Regions from separate parts of the Homo sapiens genome. Here all the other regions are linked to region 1. The links are contacts of gene promoters, found by promoter capture Hi-C in blood cells and fetal thymus (Javierre and others, 2016). All regions are on one chromosome and are shown on one strand. Each heading gives the region's core, a stretch centred on a gene start or on the middle of the fragment in contact. The rest is flanking DNA. Distances are from core to core; before and after follow the strand shown. Region 1 holds the start of CR2 (complement C3d receptor 2). Region 2 has its middle 16 kb from the start of C1orf116. Region 3 holds the start of YOD1 (YOD1 deubiquitinase). Region 4 overlaps PFKFB2 (6-phosphofructo-2-kinase/fructose-2,6-biphosphatase 2). Region 5 overlaps C4BPA (complement component 4 binding protein alpha). Region 6 overlaps LOC107985251 (a long non-coding RNA gene). Region 7 overlaps LOC107985251 (a long non-coding RNA gene).

Region 1 (2,598 bases), core at 31-2,530:
TATGGCAAAATCCACGTGGTGAAGAATGAAGCTTCCAGCCAAAGGCTGGTAAGTGAGCCATCTTAGATGTGGATTCGCCTATCCCAGTTAACCCTTCAGATGACTGCACCTCCAGCTGGTGTCTTAACTGCAATCTCCTGAGCGATCCCAAGCCAGAACCACCTGACCGACCCACAGAAACTGTGAGATCATAAATGTTTATTCTTGCTTTACACCACTACCTTCAGGGTAATTTGTTATTATAATAGATAACGGACTTAAAAGTCATTCTCCAAAAATAATTGTGGTGTATTCGTCAAAAATGTAAAGGTCATGCAATACCAAAAATGCTGAGGACATTTTTCCAGAATAAAGAACTGGGGGTGGGGGGAAGGCATAATGATCAAACACAATACATGATCCTGAAATGATTCTGGACCAGGAAAAACAAAGGTTGGTTTCTATTGTTGTTATTGTTTTTACCATAACACAGGTTATTGAGATGATTGTCAAAATTTAAATACAGATGGTAGCTTATAGTCTTGTGTCAATGTTAAGTTCTTATTTTTGATCATTGCACTCTAGTTATGGAACAGAAAGTCCTTAGTGAACCATTTAGAATAGGAATAAATGCTAGATGGTTCCAAAGTAATAATTATATAATTATAATTATATAATCACATATATGTACATATATGTCTATAGAGAAAGAATAGAGAATGGTAAAGAAAATACAGCAAAATGTTAACATGCAGAGAATCTGGGTGACAAGTATATGGGAATTCTCTGCAGTACTCTTGAAACTTTTCTGTAGAGATTACTTCAAAATAAAGAACAGAGCAGAAGTGGCTGCTGTTCCTAAATTCCCTAAGTAAACTTACACTGCTTTTTCAAACTGGGAGATGAATCCACTAATAGGTTTTGAAATGAGTTTGGTGGATTTCTAATAAGAATAGGATAGCCTAGCCTAGTCTAGCATAACACAGCATGGCACAGAGGACGAACATTGTAGATTACTAAGGGTGAGTACTAACTTGTGAAAGTTTTGTTTAAGTTCTAGTAAGAGAAACAAGTGAGTGTAGTGGGTTGCGTGGTCAAAAAAGTGGGGAAGCCACCGCAACGAGGGGTGAGTCTGAGCCAAAGAGTGGCTCAGAGCTCCCCGCCCACCTCGTGCCGGGCCGTCCCTCCCGCTTGTCCCACCCTCACCGGCGCCGCGTCAGCCCCCAGGCCGCCTGCAGGTGTGCGCTCAGAACTAGCACGTGTGCCGGACACTATTTAAGGGCCCGCCTCTCCTGGCTCACAGCTGCTTGCTGCTCCAGCCTTGCCCTCCCAGAGCTGCCGGACGCTCGCGGGTCTCGGAACGCATCCCGCCGCGGGGGCTTCGGCCGTGGCATGGGCGCCGCGGGCCTGCTCGGGGTTTTCTTGGCTCTCGTCGCACCGGGGGTCCTCGGTGAGCTGGGAGGGGGAGCACGGAGGTGGGGACGCGTCCCGGGCAGGGAAAGTTTCTGTGCCGCGATGCAAAGCAGGGGGCCAAAAGCGAGACGGTGGGGGCAGTGCTCGACGCGTGTCCGCCTCCCGCTAGCTTTGAGGGACCACTGCAATAAACCGCCTGGTCCTGATTGTCCCCACTGGCCCCTCCGGGAGCTGGGACCTCCAGAATTGGAGGCTGCGCCACAGAGGGGCGCTGTCTGGTCGGCCCGGTGTGGCTGGCGGCGTGCGGGTGCTCGCGGTCTCCTGCCGGGCTCCCCGCCCCCAGGATTCTGCAGGTGCTCATCGCTCTCTGGCCGGCGGTCAGCGCTACCGCTCGCCACGGGAAACCTACCCACTGCATGAGGCACCAGCTAGCCACGTGAGGCTGTTTCTGTACACCCGAACCGCGCTCTTGCCCAGCAAAAGCGGCAGAACCTCGGCTCCCTTCCCTAAATAAGAGTAAGACCTGGTTCCCAAGCATGGGTCTCAGATTTTCTGAACTCTAATGTGATATTGGTAGAGATCCTAAACATTAACCATCCGTAGTTATTTTTGAGACATGGATTAAAACTATTGTTTTCTTCTTGTTATTAACCTACTGTAATGGTGTGGACGTCCGCAAAGGTCTCATTCACCGTTTATTATATCTTTTTTTCCTCCAGATTGGCTTGATTTTAAAGAAAGATTATAATTAAGATTAGCGTCTCTTGGCTACAGGATGGGTCTAAGTTTCTAATTATCTCCACGGTACCGTGCATTCCTAGTTTATAAGACGTTTACTGTGTGCAGACCTCAATAACTGGGTGACTTTTGGCAAGTCATTTAGCTCCCTGATCTTCAGTTTCTTCATCTGTAAAATGAAACTAGTGATTAACTGGCCTTCCACCTCACTGAGCTGCCCTGAGCACAGATGAAACTAAGCAAAGAAAGTTGGATGTTAGTCGTTACTACTAAATATCAGTAATAAGCCTCCTGTACAGACTTGATTTTATGGAGCCAGCATTTAAGCTAACAAGCTGGGTGTCCAATTGTTTCTATGGACATCCAGCTTATTGAGGTGTCTGGAATACAGCACATATTAGTTTATTACAACTTTTTGCTTTCCTGACATTTTACTGTCTCCTGACCCTTAAACCTTTCTCCAGACCA
Region 2 (2,598 bases), core at 70-2,569, 440 kb before region 1:
CCCTAGGTTGGAGGAATAAGAAGAGTCACGACCATCTGCACAGCACTGAAAAGATTTCCTGATGCGTCCATAAATATATATCTCATGTACGTCTTGAGCATTCAGCAAAGGCTTCTCAGAAAATCTGAAATTTAATCTGAGACTTAAAGGATGAGAAGGAACTAGCTATGTAAAGATGAGGAGCGGAGAACTCCAGCAGAAGGAACAGCCAAGGTAGAGTCTCAGAGCTGGGACCAGCTTGATGCTTTTAATAAGAGAACATGAAGACAGATCCTTCAGGAGCCCCTGCCTAAAGGACGGGGGCAGGAGAGTCACTCAAAGAGGAGATGACAAATATTTCCTCAGATCCAAGCAACTGAACAGAGCCAGGAACTAATCCAAAGGAGGCCTTCACAGAGTCCTGCCTACCCACTAAAGCAGAGTGTGGCAGGGTTGGTGTGAGCTGGAGGAGGTGTTGATGTTGCAAGTCAACTTGTGCTGTAGCCTCAGTCCTACTTTCAGGCATGAAGGCCCAGGAGGTAGAGAGCGCTGTACTCTCAACATGTCCAAACACAGACCCATGCAGGGGACCCCCAGATCTGAGCCTCTCGCCATGGTCTATGTCTCAGTGAGTGGTATTAGTATCCATCCAATCACGAAGGAATGAAACCAAAACATGACTCATGACCTCACCCTCTTCCTCACCCTCAGTAATAGGTCCACCAAATCATGTCAGTGATGAACATCTTCAAACCTTCTTTCTTTTCTTCTTTCTGCCACCACCACAGCTGCACAGTGCCACACTGCCTCCCTCCCAGACTACAGCAGTAGCTTTCTAACTGTTCCCTTCACACCCATCCCAGCCTGTCTCAGTCCCCTCCCAACCCAGCCACCAGAATGATCTTTCCATCTGTAGAGATGTACAGAGTTTGGCGCAGCAACTCTCTTCACGTAAGAGGAATTTTTTGAAAAGTCTCTGGGGGTTGACGCTTAGATCCTAAGAGCCCTCAAGTGTCGGGTGGAGGTGAGAAGGATTTGCTGGTTGTGCTATAAGTTGGAAAAGAAAAAGAAAGGGTGGAAGGGGAGGTGATGTGAGGCCATGTGGTTGTGATAGGTCCCCCAGCATCCCCCACACTGACCTTCAGTAAAAAACTCAGAAAATAACAAAATGCTTAACGAAACCTGATTTCCCATGGGAATCAGTGAAAGGCCTGGGCTTTGGGTCTAGACCAATAGTGAGCGGAGACAGAGACAGTGGCTTAGGGATGGCAGAGTGTGGATTGGGAAGGAGGCAGGTGTGGGGAGGCTCCGAAGCAGCACACACAGATGCAGATAGGACAGAACTGTAGGAGGCTCTTAAAACTGGAGGAGGGCTTTGACTGTTTCAGTTCTGAGGAATCTAGGTGCAGGCCAAGATTAACCAGTCCTGATGGGGGTCCCAGTTGGCATCTGAATTACACGTCTATATGATAATAATATGAATAGACACCATTTATTCAGCAGTGTGCTATGGTTTTTTTTATATGTAGTATCTCATTTGATTCTATTTTCATAAAAACTGCAAGGGGTAAGTATTATTATTGCCTTACTTTACGAGGTTCCATCCTGTTATAATCTAAGTTCGTTTTCTCTCCATTTTTAAGATAAACAATAACTGTAGGGCGGCATAAAGTTCCCTGAACCACACAACAAAGAAAGTTAAAAGATGCAAAAGGTAATCACCGAAAAGGAAACTGAAGTGCAGAGACCCTGGCAGCCTGGCTCCTGAGCCTATGCTCTTGGCCACTGTATGTTCTCAATCTCTCTTCCCTCCCCTCCTCTTCCCTCCTTTCTTATCTTCTTCCATCTATCCACTCATCCATCCATCCATCCATCAAGCCTCCATCCATCTATCCAACTATATTTCTGACCATATCTCTCTCTATATATACATAGTTGGAGGTAGATATAGATATAGATATAGATATAGATATAGATATAGATATAGCTATCTAAGTTGACATGCCAGAGGCCATGTCAGCTTAGAAGTCCCACAGCAACCTCAAACTCAGTATGCCCCAAACCGAACCTCCCGTCTTCCTGGTCCTACATGTATATATATATACATATATATATATGTGTGTGTGTTTATTTCTGACCATAGATATAGATAGGTAGATAGAAAGAAAGGAAGAAACATATGTATCTCCAACTATAGAGATAATTCCTCTTTAGGTGGGAGGTTGAATTACAGAACCTAAAAGTTTCCTTTCCGTTCTCAAGTTCTCTGAGGTTTAGTTTATTTTAGACTATATTTTGATTATTTTTGGCAGGTGTTTATCTTCCTAACTTGTTTGGATTTACCGAAACATACATTTCAGGGCTAGCATGGATCTAGGAGAAAGACCAAGTCCCTCATGTTGAGAGTGAGAAGAAGTGACCCACTAAATCTCACCTGGTCCAGGCCTCTGCCTGTTTCACATTATTTTGAATTCTGGATACGTGGCAAGTGGTGATAAGGACAACAATCCAACTAGGTAATGAGTAAGAGAGAGTGACAGCCTGGAATTAGAGTGTAATCTGTTTTTACCACATGTGTATGCTAACAGTCAGTGATGATTGTGACAGTGGTCATGACTC
Region 3 (2,598 bases), core at 36-2,535, 400 kb before region 1:
AGGATCACCTATTCTGTCACTCCAGCAGAAAGAGGCATGTATGTACAGTTTACCACTGTAGACACACATCTGTAAACTTGCACACTAATTTTAATCTTAACAAGGAATTTCAGTGTCTTAGTGGTTTTAAGTTAAAAGGATGGTTCAAGCATTGTATCCTTTGTTCTTTAGGGTTACCATAGCTTATTGGAAAACCCAGAGCCTTCTGGATGTGTGAGGTAGTAGGCTTCAACCCTCATTCATGCATAGGTCACACTTCTCCAAAGTTGGTATGGCCTGTCTCCTTGGCATGTTCCCTTGCTTCTGCTTGTCCAGTTAATCCTTTCTGACATACCATGCATCTCAGGGTGAAGCGGTTGACATCAGTAAACTGTCTCCTTCTTCTAGCTTCATCTGCTAATTCCAGTGCTTGTACAAGAACAATATCATCATTAGAGGAGAAAATGGTCAGAGGAGGTGTATCTGGATCAGGGAAGTTACGCTGAAGTGGATCATAGTGGATGCCATCATAAATAAGCAGAACCCTTTTGGTATATCCTGCATCTTCCCCAAAACGATCAATTCTTACTGTCTGTGTATCCACTACACATATTTCACATTGGTAAAACTTGGACAAAATCGATATCTCTATTGCTCCTCCCCAAGTGTCATCCCTTTTGATCCAGTCACAGTACTCTTGATTTGTTTTTCCCAGTATTGCCTCACTATAGAAGTCTGGATCGCTTGCTACAATTTGTGCTATGAGGCGTCTCATCTCAGGGGCACAAGCTGGATTCAAGACTCCTCCTTCGACGACATAGTACACACTAGTAAAGAGGCAAGAGTTGTCTGCTGGGACCACGGTTCTGGTAAGCACAGGCAAAGTTTCCCTGACGTAACTAGAAGCACCACGTTTAGTAAATGCAGGTGAACTTCTGGGCCTGGTTTGGTCTTCTTCAATGATCAGCATGTCACCTGTTAAAAATAAAACAAATCCCGATCTGCAAAGAAATTACAGAAGAAACCGAGTGTTCTCTAGCCAAGTCTGTAAATTACAAACTGAAGGAGTTAAAGCATAAACTGGGGTTACTAAGGAGAATACAGTTTTGCAAGTAAGTTACCAGTAAGAATCTTTGTTCACTGAATTTTCATAAAGATGAAAAAAGAACAAAAAACACTTGAGGTTGCATCCCAATTTAGTGAAGGGGTCTGGAGTAAACAACTTCAAGCTTACCTAAAAAGATACATTTCAAAAACAAAATTTCCTTTCCTTATACAGTATTTTACAGAAGGTGCTCACTACAGAGTAGGCCGCTAGGGGGTTCTCCTTCTCCGGAAACTTATCTACTCTAGAGTGTTTACAACATCCTTGATACAGCAACTGAAAGCTTTTAATTATAAACACTGATGTTCAAGTTTTGATATGGCACAGAAATAACTGCTGCTGGTTAGAAATTGAAAGAGCTTTCAGTGGGTGTTTTAAAAGCTAACTCGAAAATGAGTATGCCTGTCAAACGAAGTATCTACGAAGGGGACTGCAAAAATGAATCAAGAAAAAAAAAATCCTGCACCCTTGAGATCTCATCGGTGATATAGGGAAAAAGAGACATAAGGACAGAGAAAATAGGCCCTACTTTATATTTTTGTGGACGCCGAGGGAAAACAAAATGGGATAGTTTCAAAGCCGACCAGAAAGCGGAATGGGGAAGGGGGTCTTCAAGGCTTTGGGTTCCCTTTCAACCCTGTGTCAAGACAAGGAGTTGCTAGACACTTGCCCTGGCCCCCGTCAGCATTCTCTGTTCTTTGATCTATCCTCGCCCCTGGCCTCAAAGCCCCCCCGCCGACTCACAGCCACCTTGCCTTGACTGGTGTTTTGTTCTCTCTCACGCCCCTCTCCATCCTCCCGGGACTTTCCCTGGCCCCAGCCCTGATTCCTTACCAGATTGGATGGGCAAGTCTTCCAGAATGGTATCCCCATTGCTGAGATCCAGGCACTCGGGAGGGTATCCGACGAGGATTCGCTGACCGCCGGGGGCGATCCCGGTGATGGCGGCAATTTGGCCCTGGAGTTCCCGCACCCGGGTCCGGCTGGACAGCCCCTGCAAAACATGGGTGCCGTCCTTGGCCTTGCAGCGGAGCCGCCACATCGTGTCGGTCCGGCTGCCCACAGGCCAGGCACCCGCGGGGCCAGCTTTGGTCCCGGCAGCCTGTTGGGAGACGCCGCCGGGGAAACCAGGCGCCGGGTGGACTCCAAAATGGCGACCTTTAGCGGGGCCAAACATCGCGAGAAGTTGCGGGTGGTTGCAGTTATCGCGACGCTTCGGTGCGGCTTCTGCCTTAGTACCTTAGCAAGCGCGAACTCTTTTAAAGTGACAACTGATTTTTCCCCCACCCTCAGAACGAAGATGTAAACCTCCGTATTCCTAAAGGACAACGGGTCTTGCTACCTATAGAGCGAGTGAGGTGCCCTCCGCGTGGGTAGCATATATGCTCAAGAAAAGAGGGCGGGGGAAGGAGTTCCTGAATGAAGGTCTGGAGATTGGAATGTGACCTTGCACTTAGTGAGGTCGGAAATTATTAAATTGGGGCTTCCACACTACACCCAGACTACACCAGGAG
Region 4 (2,598 bases), core at 59-2,558, 390 kb before region 1:
CCGCCTCGGCCTCCCAAAGTGCTGGGATTACAGGTATGAGTCACTGCGCCTGGCTGGAAGTGTTTTTTATCATCAATTTTTTCTCTCCAGTCTCTAGAGCATGATTTCCTCAATCTCAGTATTATTGGCACTTTGAACTGGGTAATTCTTTGTTGTAGGACCTGTCCTGTGCATTGTAGGATGTTCAGCAGCTTCCCTGGGCTTTGCCCACTAGATGCCAGTAACACCTCCAACCTGTGACAACCAAAATGTCTCCAGACATGTCAGAGGTTCCCCGGGGGGCACAGTTATCCCTGGTTGAGAATCACTGCTCCATATCTGAATGGGGGTGTTGTAGGATACCCTTTGGAGATGTGTCATCAGTTTTTAAAGTTTATATATATTATATGATATTTTACATATATTAATGCTTGTGTGTATATCATGCATATTATAGCATAACATATATATTACATATTGCATATTTTTATATCTATCTCTCTCTATATATAACATGCAAAGCCCTCAAGAACATGCCTGACTCAGAGAAATGTCTGATCAATGCCAGCTGTTGTTACTATGGAAGCATTTGTTGGCAGTATGGTGTAGACTATAGATTAACTTGTCATGTGTGAGGTATATGAGCCATAACAAAACCAAGTCTATGTTGAAGAAAGATGGTGTACACATGGAAATCTGCAAGAATGTGGCCTCATGAAAGAGCATGCATTCAGGGCAGTTAACAGCTCTATTCACATAATACAGACCTGCAGCCAAGCAAATGGCACATTTAATGTGCATGGCACACTTAATACAGTGGTCTGTTTAATGTTTTGAGCCTTTCAGTTCCTTCAAGTGGGTTTCCCAGAATCCCCTTAATTCAGAGGCTGAAAACCACCTCTAGATATGGCATAAAAGTATTCTTCAGTTGGAACAAAGTCCCACCTAGAAAAACATACAGAAGATCTACATATATATACATGTGTATGTTTGTATATGTTATCTCTGGTAGTAGGGTGATGCGTGATTTGCATCCTTCCATCATTTTTTCTGATTTTTTGATTTAAAATAAGCACTTATGACTTTTTTTTTGAGATGGAGTCTCTCGCTCTTGTTGCCCAGGCTGGAGTGCAGTGGCACGATCTCGGCTCACTGCAACCTCCCCCTTCCTGGGTTCAAGCAATTCTCCTGCCTCAGCCTCCTGAGTAGCTGGGATTACAGGCACCCGCCACCACGCCCGGCTAATTTTTTTATTTTTAGTAGAGATGGGGATTCACCATGTTGGCCAGGCTGTTCTCAAACTCCTGATCTCCTGATCTACCCACCTTGGCCTCCCAAAGTGCTAGGATTACAGGCATGAGCTACCGCATCCAGCCACACTTATGACTTTTATAAAGAGAACAATCTCATGTTGGCCTCAAAGCAAGCAATGTCTGAAAGTGTCTTTGAGAGAAGCATGATTAGGTAGATGCAGGGAGTATATAGACATTTCTGTCTGTGCTTCTGCTGCCTCTTCCCTTCCCCTCGTTGCTCGTCGTGCCATATTCTGGCCAGGTCTTAACTGCCTCAAAAGGGGCCTATTCTTCTCACCAAATTTTGGGCTTAGCAAAATCTTCAGGTCACCTAGTCTAGCCCCTGATGGGAAGGCTGAATTCTGTTTATCCTATTTATCTACATTACTTGTCACACTACAGGCACTGAGGAAATGGTACAAACTTACTAGAAGTTCAGGAAATTGTACTTCATCTTGGTTTTAAGGAGTAATTAATCTCCTACCATTTGGTTCCATAAACGTGGGTGTGACAGAGGAGGGGAGGAAGAGCAGCTGTGAGCCTGCAAGTCCCTGTAGAAATCCTTTTCCCTCTGATTCTTATTCTCAGATCTTCTTACCTAGGGAATTTTTTTTTTCCTTTCCTGTCCCAGGGATCTTTCTTTCATCAAGGTGATAAACGTGGGCCAGCGATTTTTAGTCAACAGAGTCCAGGACTACATCCAGAGCAAGATAGTCTACTACCTCATGAATATCCACGTCCAGCCTCGCACCATTTACCTTTGCCGGCATGGAGAAAGCGAGTTCAATCTCTTGGGGAAGATTGGGGGTGACTCTGGCCTCTCGGTGCGGGGAAAGCAGGTGAGTAATTATTCAGCACACTGGATTTTCTAGGCTTAGAGTTAGAAGGGCATGACTGAGGTCATATATTTTATCTCCTTACTTAAATCCCATTTGGACGTAGGCTGTGGTTTCATAGTCAGGCAAGTGCTCAAGGTGTGTTCTTGCTCACTGCGTCTAGCTCTGTGTTAAAGAGTAGATAACTTTGACCCATTTCTGCTGTGATCATTCAACCATCAGATATTCATTGGGCACAACTTGTGTACTTAGCAATGTACAGGGTGCTCCAGTTAAAGTTCATTTCCTTTTGGGTTTATATTAACTATGTAGCACCTTATGGATTTTGACCATGGTTATGCACGTTGTCCCTTACAGACCAAGTTAGCAGGCTTTGTGTATGTGTGTGTTGAGTGTGTGTGTGTGTGTGTGTGTCTGTGTGTTTTCTTTTTACCCTTAATTTTCATTTTTAAACCCCAGTTTGCCCAAGCTCTAAGGAAATTTCTGGAGGA
Region 5 (2,598 bases), core at 48-2,547, 330 kb before region 1:
CCCATCTCTAAAGAATAAAAAAATTTAAAAAACAGAAAATAAAAGAAATAAAAAGACTTCTAGATTAACCAAGAATGTTACTTATTTTTATGTTTTAAAATTTACAGTTGTTTTATGGCGCATCATGATATACAATCAACTTTCATTAATATTTCAACAGGCACTGGAATGAAGGATTTTCTTTATTAGTAGTATATAGAGTTTGCTATATACACATCAGATTTACTTTCTTTTTTTGAGACAAGTTCTCCCTCTATCACACAGGCTGGAGTGCAGTGGTGCAGTCTTGGCTTACTGTAGCCTGGACTGCCCTGGCTCAAGCAATCCTCTTGCCTCAGCCTTCTGAGTAGCTAGGCCTACAGGCATGTGCCATGATGCCTGGCTAAAGTTCAAACTTTTGTAGAGATGAGGTCTTGTTATGTTGCTCATGCTTGTCTAGAACACCTGGGCTCAATGGATTCTCTTGCCCCGGTCTTCCAAACTGCTGAGATTACAGGCATGAGCCACTGTTCTCAGTCAGATCTACTTTCTTGATAAGTTGTTTTGAATATTTTATTATGCTTGTCTTTATATACCTTAAGCATGAAGATAGGAGTTAAAGTAAATTAATAATTTTATAATTATTTTAACCATTATAAAATAATTTAATGATAATTAGCATATTTTGATTATTTTTCTTGTCTCATATACTTCTGTTTTATTAAAATTGCTGCTACATACATATTTTGCTACATAAAGATTCATAGCTCTTCACTGAAAATCAAAATCTTTAACATATAAAGTACCCATTGTGTGTCATTTAATAATCTTGGTTCTGATGTCCAACTTATGGGATATTAAAATTATTATCTTTGGTTTTCTTTTGAATTTGCTTGGTATAATTTTATGCTGTCTTTTATTTTTAATCTGTCTGAAACACTTTTAGGTTTGTCTCCTGTATATAACAGAGCTGAATTTTCTCCAATTAAAAGCTGTTTTTCTTTCATTAGGAGTTTACATTTATTGATGTGAGTGATACTTATAGACTTGGTTTTATCATATTATTTCATATTTTGTTATATATGTATGTGTATATTTATTTTCTATTAAAAATATATGGTGGTATTTAGGAAGGTTCAAAATTTGTTTCTAGTGGTGACCTATATACATTTAAATTTATATAATATCATTATTCCTCTTTATCTTTAGACAGTTTAAATTGGTTCCTTGTTATAAACAACAATAAACTTATCTTGTATTCTTACCCCTCCTTCACCCCTTCTATCTTCCCTACCAGTAAATTTGTATCATTTGTATTATCTTAGTGTTTATTTTGTATTTAACATTAATGTGAAATATTCATATGTGTCTATGGTTGCTTTCATTCTCAACTTTGCAAATGATCAGGCAATAAGGGAATTTATTTTACCCTCTCTTCCCTGTCTCTATTTTTTCTTAGTTATACTATTTCAGTGCTGTCTGAGCATATAACATTTATATTTCCTTCAGTCACACTTAAAATCACATTTGTTTTTTCTTAGATCTGCATGTACAATGTTTGCTACCATTTTTGTTTATTTTGGCTAAAGTTGCCATTGTCATCTCTTGGTTGGCTGTAGTTTGTCCTATGGTGGTTTCCAAAAAAAAGTCCCAAGTGAAAATTATTCTTTGAGTTCTTGCAGGTTCAGATAATATATCTGAGGCATTGATACCTAGAAGATAATGGGGCTTGATATAGTCCTTGGCTCATCCTTTCTTTTCTTGGATGTCTTATAGGTACTGCTGCACTATCTTTTGCTAGTGAATACTACTGATCTGAAATTTCTTCTCATATGGCTTGATCTTTGTTTGACTATCTAAATTATTATTCTTTATCTTTGAAACCTAATACTTTTACTCTTAGTTGTTTTGGTAGAAATCACTTGGTTTAATTTTTTGCTACTATGTGATGTGCAATTTTAATATGTAGATTGACGTATTGTTTTATTTTAGTAACATTTACTTGAAATATATATATTTTTTGAGTCAAGGTCTCACTCCCTTTGCCCAGGCTGGAGTGCAGTGGCACGATCATAGCTCACTGCAGCCTCAACTTCCTGGGCTCAAGCAATCCTCCCACCTCAGCCTCTCAAGTAGCTGGGACTACAGGAGAGCAGCACCATGCCCAGCTGATTTTTGTATTTTTAATAGAGATGGGGTTTTGTCATATTGGCCAGGCTGGTCTTGAACTCCTGGTCTCAAAGAATTCACCTGCCTCAGCGTCCCAAAGTACTGGTATTACAGGAGTAAGCCACCACACCTGGCCTGAAACAAATTTTTAAAAAGCTATTTTGTTCTACTTGGATTCCTTCTTTAGGTTATCCAATTAAGCCTATGTTGATTCTCTTTTGCTTGTTACCTATATCTATTAGTTTTCTCTTATCTTTTCCGTTTGTTTCATTTTTGTTGATTTTCTCATTTTTATCCTCTGTTTTCCTTATTGTGTATGGCTTCCATAAGGGAAAGTGAAAAGAATCAGAACTAAGATGCTGTTGAAACACTAAGGTGTTCCCATTGAAACAACCAGAAACAATATTTTGCACTTAGTCTCTGGGCTAGGTTGGAAAAACTACATTTTAA
Region 6 (2,598 bases), core at 59-2,558, 300 kb before region 1:
CTTTACACTATGACTAACTAGTTCATATATTTCCTTCAGAAGTTCACCCACAGTGGTGCTGAATAATTACACCAGGAGTAAAAAATGTATAGGTTATTTGGAATGTGAATCTGGTGCTAAAGTTTAGTTGAGCCTGAGAAAAGTCAACTACGAAACCCCTGCTGCCAAATATTCTTCTTTGACCACAAGAAAATAAATTAAAACGAAGTGAATTCTTTCTATGTCAGGTTTAATAATTGTGGGGAGAAAGCAATTGGAAAGCTAGAGGCTCGGCTCTGCCCTAAAAAAGTTATAACTAAAGAGAGACTATTTTGATTCCATTACCATTTTATATTTATGGGCACTATAAAAGGGGGATGCTATTTTCTAATATTTCTCTGAATTTAGGAATTACCCTTCCTAGTGCTGTTTCTGCCAATTTTAACCAATAAGTGACCTTCTGATACCAAGTCTATTTGCATATTTAGGGATATAGTGAATTCTCCTTTATTTAAAAAATAATACTCTTTATTCAAAATGTAAATACATTGAATAGATTATGTAATTAAAAATTATTTCCATAAAATTATTTTCCCTCAGAAACTTTATATGCCATCTATCTCAATACCAAGTAGAAGCTTACTACAAGTTTTAGATTATCCCAAAATGTCTGAGTCTCAGCCTGGGTCCAATCAGGAGACAGAAACCATACAATGATTTAAATAGAGGAAATTTAATATACAGAATTACTAAACTCTGATAAAAAAGTAATTATAAAATTTAAGAAAACTCTGTATGGTATTCTAGGGCTGAGGCAAGGTACTCAAGGGAGACAAACTGCAATGAGGTGCCCCTTCCCAAGGCTGGGGTTTAGACTTCATTAAAAAAGGTATAGTAGCAATCCACTGGATGCCAGAGAAGTTCACTAGTTGCCTGGACAAGAGCTGGTCTGTGGTCATTGGGCAAGTAGAAACCAAATATCCAGAATAGAGGCAGAATATAGGTGAGCTCCAGCTGGTGGCTACATGCATAAGCCTGCAGATAGGGTTGGGGGTCACTGGAACATGAGCTATCTGTGAGGGGAACCACAGATAGTGGCCAGATGGGCAGGTGTGCAGAAAAGTGACCCCAGTAGCAAGTCTTCAAGGCAGAGAAAGCACATAGGCAAGTAGGTGGCCAGGTGTGAGGGCATGAAGAGGGAGTAGGGGTGCTGTTGTGGCAAGAGTCTTGGAGAAGTATCCGTCAGAAGAACCACGGGGAGGTGATAGCCAGCCTGGTCCACGACTGCAAGATTGCCAGGGGATAGTGCATTCTGGGAAGAGGGCCTGGGGCAGACCACCCCCATATATCTTACTAACCCATCATGTAGCAGCAGGAAACAGCAGGAGAATCCTTGCTTCCTGCAATGTCCCTCAAGCATCCTCTAATGAGAATATTAAACATCATTCTCACTGTAAAGGATTAATACTTAAGGGAATTTCATCCATTATCACAGAGCTGTAATAAACGGTTAGTTTGGATGTGAGAGGAAATGCACTGATAACTGGCACGGCACGTATAACTTAATGATGCTAAAATAAAAATGCAAAGTCAAAATACTCAAGGATTGCTTACAGCGAGACTTATGGAAGAGGAAGTACAGGAAGAGTAGCAGCAAATTCACTAAAATTTAGACTTATAAGCAATTTTGTTGAGTTTATTTTCAGTCAAGGAAAAATGATTATATATTTCCTACTAGTTGATAAAAAGAAACAGTTCTGAAAGAGGAGCTTATTTTCACTAATTAAAATAGAAAAACTTAAAATAGAAAATTAAAATTTATCCCATGGGCCATTTAATAAGAAACAGTGAATAACATAATTAGGACAATGCCAATAACATGGACAATAGCAAAGTTGTTTTTCAAATAGCCAAATATACCAGCCTTTAATAAGAACTGAGTTGATCTATTAAAACATAAATTAAGACTGATGCTTTTACAAGAAGTTAAGCAAGCTACTGATATCCAGGTACAGCTACTAAAGCTTTGTTTTGAATCAAAGATAGACCCTGGAATACATAGAAAAATGAATGGATTTCGTCTCTGTTAGACTAGTGATTCCTGCATTTGCTGAACATGAGAATAACTTCAGGCATTTTAAAAATAATTCAGGCATTGAAGCCTCATCAGATATATTTGATTAGGGGATTGGGAATCTGCATTTTAGCAAACACAGATATTTTGGGGGAGCTGCCTCACTCAAGGTGGCAGTCTTTCTCTGGGACACCCACATTTATTGATTGGTTGGTGCAGTGGTACAAAAGCCCAGCTTTACTTAATCCTGGACACCTTTGAAGGGCCAGTCCAACTTTAAGGATGCTCTGAAGTCTCTGATGCAACTGCTTCAAAGTTTTGCTTTTCTGTCTTCCTTCTCATTCTTCCTTTACAGACAATGTTCCTGTAAGAACGCCTCAATAAACCACTCTGCATGCACATTTATATTTCTTCTGTTTTGATTTACTTGTTTGTGTTGTTTCCTCATGTGTTTGACAATTTTATTTTTAAATGATTTGTAAAGAAGGCTTTTATATTTAAGACATGAAATTTTAATTGTTATATCTGCTTTAATTATTTAATTG
Region 7 (2,598 bases), core at 52-2,551, 280 kb before region 1:
ATATCCAGTGAGTATGGACTACGATGGAGTTCCAATATTTGGATCTAAAACTATCCTGACATATAGGTGTGGCATGCTCACAGGCACAAGCCAACTCTACTCCCAATAATCATTTTAAGATAAATTGGTACTTTTCTTGTCAAAAGGAAGATTTTTTTGTTAATAATCTCTTAGCGCTATTGGAAGAATTCCAAATATATAGTCATGAGACCAATGACTTCATAGATATTGTAGACTTATATATTTGCTATAAAAATTTTCCAGGAGACAATAGTAAAGTGTTTCAGTCTAACAAAATCAATGTATTACGAGAATTTTTTGAACAATGGAAGTAAGATTCCTTTAAGACAGTTCTTTTTTATAATTTGCATAGAAATGCTCTATGGGCCAATATTGGTCTTGAGACCTTCATGTTGTAAATACATACAGATCATTTATAACATTAATGATTTATTGCTAGCATTTATTGAGCATTTTCTATGTTATAAACACTGTTCTAAGTGCTTTACATCAATTAACTCATTCAATATTTACAACTATTCCAAGAAGTTGCTATTTTTTATCCAATTTTAATGGTGAGAAAACCGAAAAAGAAAGATTAAGTAACTGGCACAAGCTCACATAGTTAATTGGAGGTGGAAGCCACCACTACATTGTGGTTTATCTAGTCTCTTCTGCTATCACATAAACTTAGGTGCCATTCAAAATGTGTAGTAATGAAATTCAATAAATACACAATTTGACAGACACATATCCTCTCTTTGATTCACACTGACCTTTAGCATATTGTTGAATAGAAAAAAAAAATACAAGATGAAAGGCCCAGCTGCAAAAGTTATATGGGGCTTGGTTTGAGGCCAAAGCATGAAGTTGCAGATGATAGTGTCATGATGTCAAGAAGAATGCCTCTTATTTTAATTCCCCATTAGGCAATGAGATTAGAAAGTCATTCTCATCTTGGAGCAAATTTTTGCTGTGTCTTTCTAGTGATCCTAATTCTTCCCCTGAAGACCAACCATTCTAAAGTGCAGTGATGTGAAAGGAAAACTAAGCTCCTACGGAGTTGACCCAGCACCTAGAAACTGTCCCCTTCCTACACCATGGCATGCTTCTCAGTACAGCCTCTCCAGTGGCACATGCATTTAGTAGACACATGCACTTAATAGACACTAGTCTATTGGGCAGTGGTGCTGCCGAGTCTTTTTCTGGAATTCCCATTTAATCTTTACCATCTCATTTTTTGCTGAATGACTATGTTATATCCCTTTTTTGTGACAGGCTCACGAGTCACTCTGCCATTCCCAGTAACACATTTCTTTCACCCTTGTGCTTTCTTTATGAGTGAATGGTTGCACTGTCCTACCGGACATTTCCTATGCTTCCTGGGAGAGAAATGACTACAACCTAAGTGATCACGAAATATTTGAAATTGGAACTGAGTTGAAATATCTATGCAAACCTGGCTATAGACCTGTTTTAGATGAGCCTCTGACTGTGACTTGTCAGGAAAATTTGACATGGACATCTTCCAATGAGTGTGAGAGTAAGAAGACTTGAACTTTGTTTTGTGTATATATGTGTGTGTATCTTCTTTGATATTGAAAATGTTGAGCACAATCCTTGAAATTTGCTGAGACTTGCTTCACTTCATAGCATATAGTTAATTTTTATAAATGTTCTGTGTGCACTTGAAAAGATGCATATTTTGCAGTTGTTGGGTGCAATGTTACATATACATCAATTAGATCTAATTTTAATGGTTTTGTTCAAATCTATTTCCATATTTATATTTATTTCTTGTCTACTTGTTCTCTCGGTTACTAAAAAAGTTTTGTTTGTCTTTTATCTTTTCAGAGTTTTTGTTTGTTTGCTTGCTTGCTTGTTTTGAGACAGGGTCTTGCTCTGTCACCCAGGCTGGAATGCAGTGGCATGATCTCGGCTGGATGCAGCCTCAACTTCCCGGGCTCGAGCCATCCTCCTGACTCAGTAGCTGGGACTACAAGTATACACCACCACACCTGGCTCATTTTTGTATTCTTTGTAAAGATGGGGTTTTGTCATGTTGTCCAGACTGGTCTCAAACTCCTGGACTCAAGAAATTCACTCACCTCGGCCTCCCAAAGTGCTGGGATTACTGGTGTGAGCCACCACACGTGGCCATCTTTTTAGTTTTTTCAAATCATTTTTTGCTTTGTATATTTTGAGACTACATTGCTAGATGCATACAAATTTAGAATGATATATTTTCCTGATAAATTTCACTTTTTATCATTATAAAATGACTCTATTACTATAACTGTTTTATCTTTAAAATTCTACTTTTACATTAATATAGTTCTGACATCTTTATCTGAGTTAGTGTTTACATGGTTTATCCTCTTTTAGTCTTTTGTTTTTGTACTTTCTGTAATTGTATATTTTAAGTGTATCTTGGAAGCAGGATAGAGTTGGATATTTTAATCCTACTTGACAATTTTCATTATTTAATTAGAGCACTTGTCAGTGTACAGTTAGTGTAATAATTAATATAATTGAATTTATATCTACCATCTATTTGCTATATACGTTTTTTGTTTTACATTCTTTTTTTTCCCTCCT

The links. The method cuts DNA at HindIII sites, captures the fragments that hold promoters and counts their contacts. A CHiCAGO score of 5 or more calls a contact.
Region 2: a fragment that was not itself captured here is called in contact with the fragment with the promoter of CR2 in region 1 in 5 of 17 cell types (monocytes, M0 macrophages, endothelial precursors and 2 more); the score reaches 8.1 in monocytes.
Region 3: a contact is called between a fragment that was not itself captured here and the fragment with the promoter of CR2 in region 1, in 8 of 17 cell types (naive CD8 T cells, naive CD4 T cells, total B cells and 5 more). The highest score is 14.2, in naive CD8 T cells.
Region 4: a fragment that was not itself captured here is called in contact with the fragment with the promoter of CR2 in region 1 in 3 of 17 cell types (naive CD4 T cells, naive CD8 T cells and total CD4 T cells); the score reaches 7.5 in naive CD4 T cells.
Region 5: a contact is called between a fragment that was not itself captured here and the fragment with the promoter of CR2 in region 1, in 2 of 17 cell types (total CD4 T cells and neutrophils). The highest score is 5.7, in total CD4 T cells.
Region 6: a contact is called between a fragment that was not itself captured here and the fragment with the promoter of CR2 in region 1, in 3 of 17 cell types (endothelial precursors, total CD8 T cells and total B cells). The highest score is 5.7, in endothelial precursors.
Region 7: a contact is called between a fragment that was not itself captured here and the fragment with the promoter of CR2 in region 1, in 1 of 17 cell types (naive B cells). The highest score is 6.0, in naive B cells.

What each region holds. Positions count from the first base shown.
Region 1 is chr1:207,453,048-207,455,645 of GRCh38, forward strand. CR2 (complement C3d receptor 2) reads left to right here and starts at 1,281. Exons shown (of 20, transcript NM_001006658.3): 1 at 1,281-1,429. The coding sequence starts at 1,372. RefSeq lists silencers at 1,120-1,349, 1,730-1,839. The HindIII fragment of the contact is 5,194 bases long and covers 30-2,598 here.
Region 2 is chr1:207,015,307-207,017,904 of GRCh38, forward strand. No RefSeq gene overlaps it. Among named protein-coding and RNA genes, the nearest start is that of C1orf116, 16 kb to the right of the region's middle. The HindIII fragment of the contact is 3,148 bases long and covers 1-2,598 here.
Region 3 is chr1:207,048,770-207,051,367 of GRCh38, forward strand. It overlaps YOD1 (YOD1 deubiquitinase), which reads right to left and starts at 2,439. Exons shown (of 2, transcript NM_018566.4): 1 at 1,919-2,439; 2 at 1-954. The coding sequence starts at 2,261. The coding sequence ends at 251. It also overlaps a transcript of PFKFB2 not described here. RefSeq lists an enhancer at 2,003-2,573. The HindIII fragment of the contact is 159 bases long and covers 1,207-1,365 here.
Region 4 is chr1:207,065,597-207,068,194 of GRCh38, forward strand. PFKFB2 (6-phosphofructo-2-kinase/fructose-2,6-biphosphatase 2) reads left to right here. Exons shown (of 15, transcript NM_006212.2): 9 at 1,903-2,110; 10 at 2,567-2,598. Among named protein-coding and RNA genes, the nearest start is that of PFKFB2, 14 kb to the left of the region's middle. RefSeq lists a silencer at 1,928-2,159. The HindIII fragment of the contact is 7,385 bases long and covers 1-2,598 here.
Region 5 is chr1:207,120,590-207,123,187 of GRCh38, forward strand. The region is part of intron 4 of C4BPA (complement component 4 binding protein alpha); the gene reads left to right. Among named protein-coding and RNA genes, the nearest start is that of C4BPA, 18 kb to the left of the region's middle. The HindIII fragment of the contact is 3,337 bases long and covers 1-2,598 here.
Region 6 is chr1:207,156,922-207,159,519 of GRCh38, forward strand. The region is part of intron 1 of LOC107985251 (a long non-coding RNA gene); the gene reads right to left. Among named protein-coding and RNA genes, the nearest start is that of C4BPA, 54 kb to the left of the region's middle. The HindIII fragment of the contact is 1,386 bases long and covers 616-2,001 here.
Region 7 is chr1:207,173,793-207,176,390 of GRCh38, forward strand. All of the region lies in intron 1 of LOC107985251 (a long non-coding RNA gene), which reads right to left. It also overlaps the pseudogene C4BPAP1. Among named protein-coding and RNA genes, the nearest start is that of LINC02942, 65 kb to the right of the region's middle. The HindIII fragment of the contact is 4,272 bases long and covers 1-2,598 here.